2 separate regions of the Homo sapiens genome follow, and region 1 is linked to region 2. The links are contacts of gene promoters, found by promoter capture Hi-C in blood cells and fetal thymus (Javierre and others, 2016). All regions are on one chromosome and are shown on one strand. The core of a region is centred on a gene start or on the middle of the fragment in contact, and the rest is flanking DNA. Distances in the headings are between cores, read along the strand shown. Region 1 overlaps SRPRB (SRP receptor subunit beta). Region 2 holds the start of RAB6B (RAB6B, member RAS oncogene family).

Region 1 (4,046 bases), core at 1-2,500, 84 kb before region 2:
GTGTTCTCATTTTATATTTATGTGTAATTTTACATTATGTTCACCTTTCTCATAAATTTTGCCAGATCAGGAACCGTGTCTTTGGCCACTGTTACATCCCCAGAACGTTGACTAGTGTTTTATGAGTAGAAGATGCTTTGTGAACATTTGTTTGGTTAATTAGGTACCAGTTTGGTAGCCAATATATGATACTAAAGGTTTATATTGTGAACGTGGAACTGTATTGAAACGTTAATGTTATTGCTGCCATCCCCAGGGCAATAGTCTGACCTTGATTGACCTTCCCGGCCATGAGAGTTTGAGGCTTCAGTTCTTAGAGCGGTTTAAGTCTTCAGCCAGGTAAGAAGGAAAGAAGTGAAGTGGGCTTGTCTAGGTCTGTATCTGTATATCAAAGCCACTCATGTGATTTGCTCTGGTGGTGTTTGGGAGGCAGCATGGTATCCTGTGGTAGACCTTGAGGTGACCTTGGGGTCAGCCAGTTCTGGGTTGCAAGTCCACCTTCACCTGGATGATGAGGATTTTATGGGATTAAAATGCTTAAAAAGTGTTTTTTAGTGTTTAGGAAATGTTAACCCTTCTTGTCATTGTTACTAAATGTTTGCATTTATTCTGAAGGTGAATTTAATAATGTATATGACTATTAAAATCTGAAAAAAGAATTTTAAAGCTGGGATGAATCCTAGCAGTTTTTAAATGCCAACATCATTTATATATATAGTGTTTTTTTGTTTTTTTTTTTTGAGATGGAGTCTCACTCTGTTGTCCTGGCTGGAGTGCAGTGGTGTGATCTCGGCTCACTGCAACCTCCACCTCCTGGGTTCAAGTGATTCTCCTGCCTCAGCCTCCTGAGTAGCTGGGATTACAGGCACGCACCACCACACCCTGCTAATTTTTCATAATTTTAGTAGAGATGGGGTTTCACCATGTTGGCCAGGCTTGTCTCGAACTCCTGACCTCATGATCCGCTGGCCTCAGCCTCCCAAAGTGCTGGAATTACAGGCGTGAGCCACTGCACCTGGCCCATATATATTCTCAAATTACGTAAAATTGATGTTTCAAGAAGTACAGAACAATATTTCCATATTTCTTTTAGTGTGTGCTCTGGTGTTACTGACTCTTAAGTTCTTCCCTAAAAAGTCTTATGCTGCAGTTTCAGATGCTTCTTTTTTGGTCTCTAACATTAATAAGAACTGAAGAGGAAAATCAGTATGCCACATTTCACTGATTTGAAGACACATTTTAATATCTCTGAATTTAGAATATATCTTATAGTTGATGGTGTCATAGTTTAATTGGCAGTATTTTCTCTTAGCGGTCCCTAAAATAATGTCTTTAATTGGCAGCATTTTAGTTTTGATGGAATGAAGTAGTAGATTCTTTGCCTTTTATTGAAGATGTCTAGACTGAAATTTCATTATTGCATCTTTGCCCACAAGATGGTGGTGATGAACAATTTGTCACAGATAAGAAAATTCCTTGGACAATTGAGACAAATCTAGAGCTGGTAAATTTTGCCATAATTGGGTTTTTATTTCCAATTAAATGTTTTTTCTTTTTCTATTGCCAGTTCTAAATATTTTATGATTTGCAGTATAACTACTCTGTGATTCATGTATTTTGGGTAAATAAAACATGCAAAATATGAAGATAAAACTTAGTTCAAATAAATTATAATCATGATAACATGCAAGTTGAAAAGACATTTACTATATTGGTATGTGACTTTTTTTTAATCCTACTTTCTGGCTTCGCCAAGTTTCCCTAGTGGCTATTTTCCCTCTCCTGATTTGAACATATGCTGTTGCTGTTCTTATCATGGTTCCCCTCCCCCATCTTTTAAACATTGCCTATTTGATTGTCTGAATCCAATAATATCAGTTTCCTTTTCCTGAACCTTAAACACTTTAACTTTCATCTTCCTCACATCTTCCTTTTATTTATGCTCCTTTTTAACCCCCATCCATACTTTTTTTTCCTCTTACATTCAGTGATGAGAATTACCAGGATGCTTATGGTCTTTTGCTCCCCATTGCTTCTTGAATTTTACTTCTTCCCTTTAGATTCAGTTTTCCCTCACTGAGTATATCTTTTAGAAGTGTTTCCAGAGAGGGTGATGAGTAGTCAAATGTTTTCAGTCTTTGTTCATTTGTAACTCTATTTGGCCAGCATTTTGGAATGTCTCTTTTAGCTGAGTGCAGAGTCCTGGGTGGCAGCCGCATCACTCCTGACCTCATCCATCTGTTGCAGATGAGAATGTTTTTGCCAGTCAGTCTAATTGTCATTTCACTGTAGTAAGTCTGCCTGATTTGACCTTCTATCCAGGGATAGATTTTCTTCTGTTCAAGGATGGATTTAGCTTTATCATTCTTGGAATTCAGTTGTGCTATTCCAAACCAAAGATTCTCCTCAGTTTTGGAAAATTCTCACCATCGTTTCTCCAGGTAGTGCTGTTTCCCCATGATCATTTCTCACACTCTGGAATTCTTATGAATGTTATTGAACCTTATTATTTTTGCCTTTCTTGTTTCCTCTCTATCGTATCTTCCAGATCTTTCTACTTCGCATATTGTAAGATTCCCTCAGATTTGTTTTCTAGTTTATTACATTATTTTCAGCTGAGCATGATCTCTGCTTAACTTTTCCATTGATTTATTAATATCATTTACTATATTTGTCTAAAATACTTACCTTTTCAAACCAGCCTGTTTCTTTTTATACTATTCTATTTTTTATTGTAGTTTGTAGTATTTTCTTAAATAATTTTAAACATTTACTTTATAGATAGCTTTATTATCTTAGTTTTGGGGTGCTGATTATTCTCTTTGGGGTACCAGTTATTCTCCCTCATAATTATTTTATTCTGTGCCTTGTAATTTTTGCTCCAGAACCTTTCTTCAAGAGTGACACATCATTGATATTGTGGTGGTTCTTTAATCCCGTAGGATATGAAAGCCTTGCTCCATAAGCGGTTCATAGTTCCTTCTGTTGGGGCCATAGGGCTTCAATAAGTCTGGCCCAATTTTTATGTAAGCCTTTCCCCTTGGGGGTCTTACACCTGGAGAGAGTATAAATTCATACCCTATATCTGTGTGAGGCAGTGGAGGCCCGCTGTTTCTAAGGGAACTTTTTTTGCAAGCCCCGACCTCCCTGAGACTATTTTAAGTTGTAGGCTTTGTGCAGGGCATTCAGTTCTAGCTCCCCAGCTGCATGTTGGCCATTGCATGTCTCTTATCTCCACCTGGGCATTCAAACCCTTGTCCATAAGGCTTGTATTTTTTTTTTTTTTTTTGAGACGGAGTCTCGCTCTGTTGCCCAGGCTGGAGTGCAGTGGCGCGATCTTGGCTCGCTGCAAGCTCTGCCTCCCAGGTTTACGCCATTCTCCTGCCTCAGTCCCCTGAGTAGCTGGGACAACAGGCACCCGCCATCACACCAAGCTAATTTTTTGTATTTTTAGGAGAGACAGGGTTTCGCCGTGTTAGCCAGGATGGTCTCGATCTCCTGACCTCGTGATCCGCCCGCCTCGGCTTCCCAAAGTGCTGGGATTACAGGCGTGAGCCACCGCGCCTGGCCGGTTTTTTTGTTTTTTTGTTTTCTTTGAGATGGAGTTTCGCTTTGTCACCCAGGCTGGAGTGCAGTGGCATGATCTCAGTTCACTGCAACCTTCGCCTTCTGGGTTCAAGTAACTCTTCTGCCTCAGACTCTCAAGTAGCTGGGATTACAGGCTCCCGCCACCATATCTGGCTAATTGTTATATTTTTAGTAGAGATTGGGTTTCATCATGTTGCCCAGACTTGTCTCGAACTCCTGACCTCAAGTGATCTGCCTGTCTCGGCCCCCCAAAGTGCTGGGATTACAGGCGTGAGCCACCGCACCCGGCCCCCTAAGACCTGTTGTCTGCAGTTTCCCTGGGCTGCTGCACTTTAGCTTTGATATCTCTTTGTTTCTGTCACATGAGGAGTCCCACTATGGCTGCCTTAGTTCAGGCCCTACCTGGTCACTGTGCTTCTAGTTCAAGCGCCCTCTAAGATTGCTTTGTCTTCCATTTA
Region 2 (4,675 bases), core at 1-2,500:
GGTGCCCCTGTATCATTCCCCAAATCGCCTCGAGTTGGGGTAGCCCTCACTGCAATTGCCCAGATCCCTGGGCAGCAAGGAGACTAACAAGCGCCGGCGAAGGGCAGCGGGTCTAGAACCTTCTGTGCCCAGTCGGACGTGAGCCAGGGGAGGTAGGCTCCCCGTTCCCCCATGGCCTGCACTCGCTCTTTCGAGCAGAGACAGGTGTCGCTCTTTTCTCCCCGGTGGCTGTTTGTCCCACGCCCTGGACGTGCCCTTTCGCATGGTTCCCAGCAGGGTCCGCAGGGAACACCCCTCCAGTGCAGCGGAGTGAGGCCCGGCCAGACCCCAGCTTCGCTTCGTTCTCCAAGGGGGGCGCCCGTCGCTCTCCCCACCCCCGCCAGCACCCAGCCACCTGCGCGGTCGCCCGCAGCCGGTGCCGCAGTGTGAGCTAGCCAGCGAGCCCGGTTCCTTCACGCCCTGGCCAGCGCCGCGGAGCCAGCCGCCGCCCTCCGGGCCCCCTGCAGCGCCGCACCTGCACCCACACCCCGGGCCCCCCACCCAGAGCCCACCCTCACCTCCACCCCAGGCTCCAGCGCCTCCTCCGTCCTCACCCTTGGCCCCTCCCCAGCCCGACCCCGCCCCGACCTCCCCATCCCTGTCCCTCTCCTCTACCCTGGCAAGGAGGGGCCTTTCCGAGCCTGGGCCGGGGGTCCCAATGGGGTGGGCGATTGGGCGGCGGGGGTCGACTCGGCGACAAGCCAAGAGATTAAGCCGGGTACTTACCGCTCTGCTCCCCCAAGAACACCAACTTGAATTTTCTCAGTGGATTCCCAAAATCTCCCCCTGCGGACATGGTGCTGGCAGCCGGGGCCGGGAGAGGAGGAGGAGGAAAAAGCGAAGGAGCAGGGAGGGGAGAGTAGGAGGGCGAGGGGAGGCGGCCGGCGGTGCGGGAGCCGGAGGGGGAAGGGCTGGCTGCGCGCGTCCCTGACTCCCCAGCTGCGTCCCGGTCCCGGCCTGCGGCTGCGTGTCCGGCGGCGGAGGAGGAGGAGGAGAGAGAGGCGGAGGCGGAGGAAGGCTGGGGCTGGGCTGCTGCGGTCGGCACTGGCTGCGGTGCGAGGGGCGCGCTCTTTACGCCCGAGGCGCGGCGCTGGGAGAGAGGCGCGGGCGGAGCGGGGCGCAGGGACGGCGCGCGGGGCGGAGGAGCGCTCTCCAGAGCCGCGCCAGTCGGCCCCCTCCCGCCTGCCTCCTCCGCCGGCGCCTGCGCTCTGTGCGCTCCCCAGCCTCTGATGTCATGCGGGGCCCGCGGGGCTGCGGGGCTGGGGGGCGTGCGCCCGCCCACCCGAGCCCGCACCCGGGCAGGAGAGAACCTCCTCGCCGTACCCCTGAGAGCCCCCCGGGGGGGACCGTGTCTCGCTGCCCCGCTGCGTCTGTCTTCCCCACTCTACCCCTCTTTTGAATCCAGAAAATGACAGAAATTGTCAGGGGACATTTGTTTCTGGTCTTTTAAACCTAGATGCCAGTCCCTTCCTCCACCTCGCGAGACACCGATGCACAGCGCAGTCGTCCGACCGACAGGGCGGAAAGGAACGAAGGTGGGGGAGAGCCAGGGTGTGGCGAGGCCCGTCAGGGCGGTCAGACCTAGGGAAACCTGGCGTACTTGGCGCAGATGGGGCTCGACTCTTGCCCCCCGTGGCTTCTAGCCCGCCCTTCCCTCTCGAGGCCTAGACCCTTTATTTGGGCGGCCTCTTGTGGAGTCTGTGGGTGCCCCCGCAGACCTGGCCAGCGAGAGAGGAGCTGCCAATATCAGGCGCGCCTACCTCAAACCAGCTGCTCATTTGGATCATTTTATGCCAAATCCTAACCTGCCCCATGGGAGAGAAGGAACGGTGACGCTCTGAATGCCAGTGCCACTATCTCCAGGACAGTGCCCTGCGTTTCTTGATCCCGGGGTCGCCAGGCTGACAATGCCACTCCCCACCCTGGCAATTAGGTGTATCTGGACAATGAGCTATCTGAGGACATGTGGGCGACCTCTCCTTGGCCTCTACTTGCCTGGTCCATCGAGGCACACAGACCAAGTTGTGAGTGAGTGAGAGCAAAGAGCAGACGCCAAGTGCTAGAAACACTCCCAAGACAGCCCGAGCCTAAGGCATGCTGGTTAATTGAGGTTTTACAAAGCTGTCCCTTACTGTTCTGCCACAGCGTGGTCTTGTTCATTTATGGCTGTTCAGTGAGCATTTATTTGAGATAATAATCTGCATGTCGGTGAACACGATGGTGTGTGCACGCATGTGTTATAGAAAGAGAAAGAGGAGTGAGACACAACCTTCACCTCCAGATTTCTCGTGGACACTTGTTACCCCCTTTTTGACTTATGGGGCTTGCTTGGGCAAGCCTATCTGTCTCCCTGGTGTGCTCACCTCGAATCTCTTTCCTATTTCTTGTTAGAAACCTGACCACAAGTTCCATAAAAGCAGTAGTTGAAGCTCCACCACTGCATCCCAAGGACATAGCTCAGAGTTTAAGAAATAGTTGTTGAATGTTTGAATGAACATCTAGAACTCAAATCAAAATAACTGTCCTATTCTCATAATTACCTTTAGTTTGGAACCCCAGGGATTGTAAGTCATCACCTAGAATATCTGCCCCGTTGTGGCTGGCACCAGGCTCAGGGTAACCCTCCAGACACCCACCCACTTCTCTGGGGCTCCTGCTCTCTTAGGAGACCATATCCAGCTTGGGGTTGAAGAAAGCTCTGAAAGGAGAGGAGACTCCCAAGTCACAGCCCTTCCCGTCTCTATAAGTGATCCCTCCAAAGAAGGGCCAGTGAGCTACTGGCCAAGGTACCCAGCCATGCAACACTCCTCCAACCTGCACCTTCTCCTAACATCTAGTGCTGTCTCCCTGTACCCTCTCATCCTGACCTGATGAGATCATCGGTGGCAAGACAAAACAGCTGAGGTGTGCCAGAAAAGGCACCATCTTTTGGGTAAGCCTAGGCAGGTCCTGTACCTCCTCTGATCATCTGGTCCCGCACATGTAAGGTGGTATGGCAGTAGGGGAGGGAGGGCTGGGGCAGGGCCCCTCTGGGCACCTCTAAGCCTCCAAGTCATCCCATATGCTTACCAGGTCCAGCTGGGCTGACTATGGTCCAGCTTACTTTGGGGGACTCTGTCATAATTCTTCCAGTTCAAATGACAAAAACCCGGCTCCGACTACCGGGCTCACGTCGCTGGAGCAGATACTGGCATTGCTCTCAGAATGCAGTCATCATGCTGTGGAAATGAGAGCCTTAGAGACTCCAAGTTTGCTCTGCTCCAAGTCTCTCTCCTCCAACTATCATTGCTTATCTCCCCTGATTTTGAGTCTTGTCCTTAACCTGCCCTAAAGCAGACAGACTTTCTCCAGGTGGAAAATGGGGCCACTGAACCTCAGCCTGGCAACCTCACTAGAAAGAGTTTCTTCCATATCATAGAATCTGTGCATTCCATTTAAAAAAATTCTTTAAATCTTCCTATTTAGTATGTGCTGTGTATATGTAAGTTACAAAGAAAACCTATCACTCTGAGTGCCCATTTACCCTCTACACAGCTGGAGGGCTCAAATATTATAGTACTTTTCAGGCCCCCAGGTGCTTTCTTCTCCTTCCTCCCTCCCCAACTTGGAAATCCAGAATCTTAGCTTTTCTTTGAGTTTTATCACATTGGATGTGTCCTTCACAATACTTTGTTTTGTTTTGCATCTTTTGAATCTTATATAAGGTATCAAACTGTGTTTTCTGTCCTGACTTGCATGTTTCTTAACATCATGTTTCTGAGATCCATTTGTTAATTCATGTAGCAGCAGTTCTTTCATTTTCACTGCTGGTTAGTATTCTAGTTATGCCCCAATTTTTAAATGATTTTCTGTAAAATGTGTCATTTAAAATTTTTATTTTATTTTATTTTATTATTGTTGTTATTATTTTTGAGATGGAGTCTTGGTCTGTCACCAGGCTGGAGTGTAGCGGCGCCATCTCGGCTCACTGTAACCTCCGCCTCCCAGGTTCAAGCAATTCACCTGCCTCAGCCTCCCGAGTAGCTGGTACTACAGCCACGCACCACCAGGTCTAGCTAATTTTTTTATTTTTAGTAGAGCCGAGGTTTCACCATGTTGACCAGAATGGTCTCAATCTCTTAACCTCGTGATCCGCCTGCATCAGCCTCCCAAAGTGCTGGGATTACAGGTGTGAGCCACCACGCCTGGCCTTTTTTAAAATTATTTTAAATAATTTTATACTCACATAGAGGTTATAAAAAACAGTGCAGGGAGTTACTATGTATCCTGCACCAAGCTACCCCAGTGATAACATCTTACATAACCACATTGCTTAGTAAAACCAGGAAATTAACATTGGAAAATGCACTCAGTTTTGTTTCTGCTATTAACAAACAATGCTGCCATCAACATTCTTTACATGTCTCTTGATGCCTCTGTGAAGTTTTTCTAAGATATGTGTCAGTAGGTAAATTGTGGTATAAAAACAAGTGTACGTTTAATTTTGTGCCAAACTATTTTTCAAAGATATTCGTTAGATCATATAGCACTACAGCATCATCTATATTTTTCATTTTCTTCAAGATCTTGGTTTTCCTGAGCCCTTTGCTGTGTTATATATATATATATATATATTTAAATTAAATTTTTGAGATCA

What was found. Contacts are between HindIII fragments. The CHiCAGO score rates a contact against its expected background, and 5 or more counts as called.
Region 1: a contact is called between a fragment that was not itself captured here and the fragment with the promoter of RAB6B in region 2, in 1 of 17 cell types (erythroblasts). The highest score is 5.4, in erythroblasts.

Annotation. Positions count from the first base shown.
Region 1 is chr3:133,810,861-133,814,906 of GRCh38, forward strand. It overlaps SRPRB (SRP receptor subunit beta), which reads left to right. Exons shown (of 7, transcript NM_001379313.1): 4 at 257-339. Among named protein-coding and RNA genes, the nearest start is that of SRPRB, 7.1 kb to the left of the region's middle. The HindIII fragment of the contact is 9,216 bases long and covers 1-4,046 here.
Region 2 is chr3:133,894,632-133,899,306 of GRCh38, forward strand. It overlaps RAB6B (RAB6B, member RAS oncogene family), which reads right to left and starts at 1,251. Exons shown (of 8, transcript NM_016577.4): 1 at 766-1,251. The coding sequence starts at 835. RefSeq lists a silencer at 1,221-1,270. The HindIII fragment of the contact is 7,968 bases long and covers 1-4,675 here.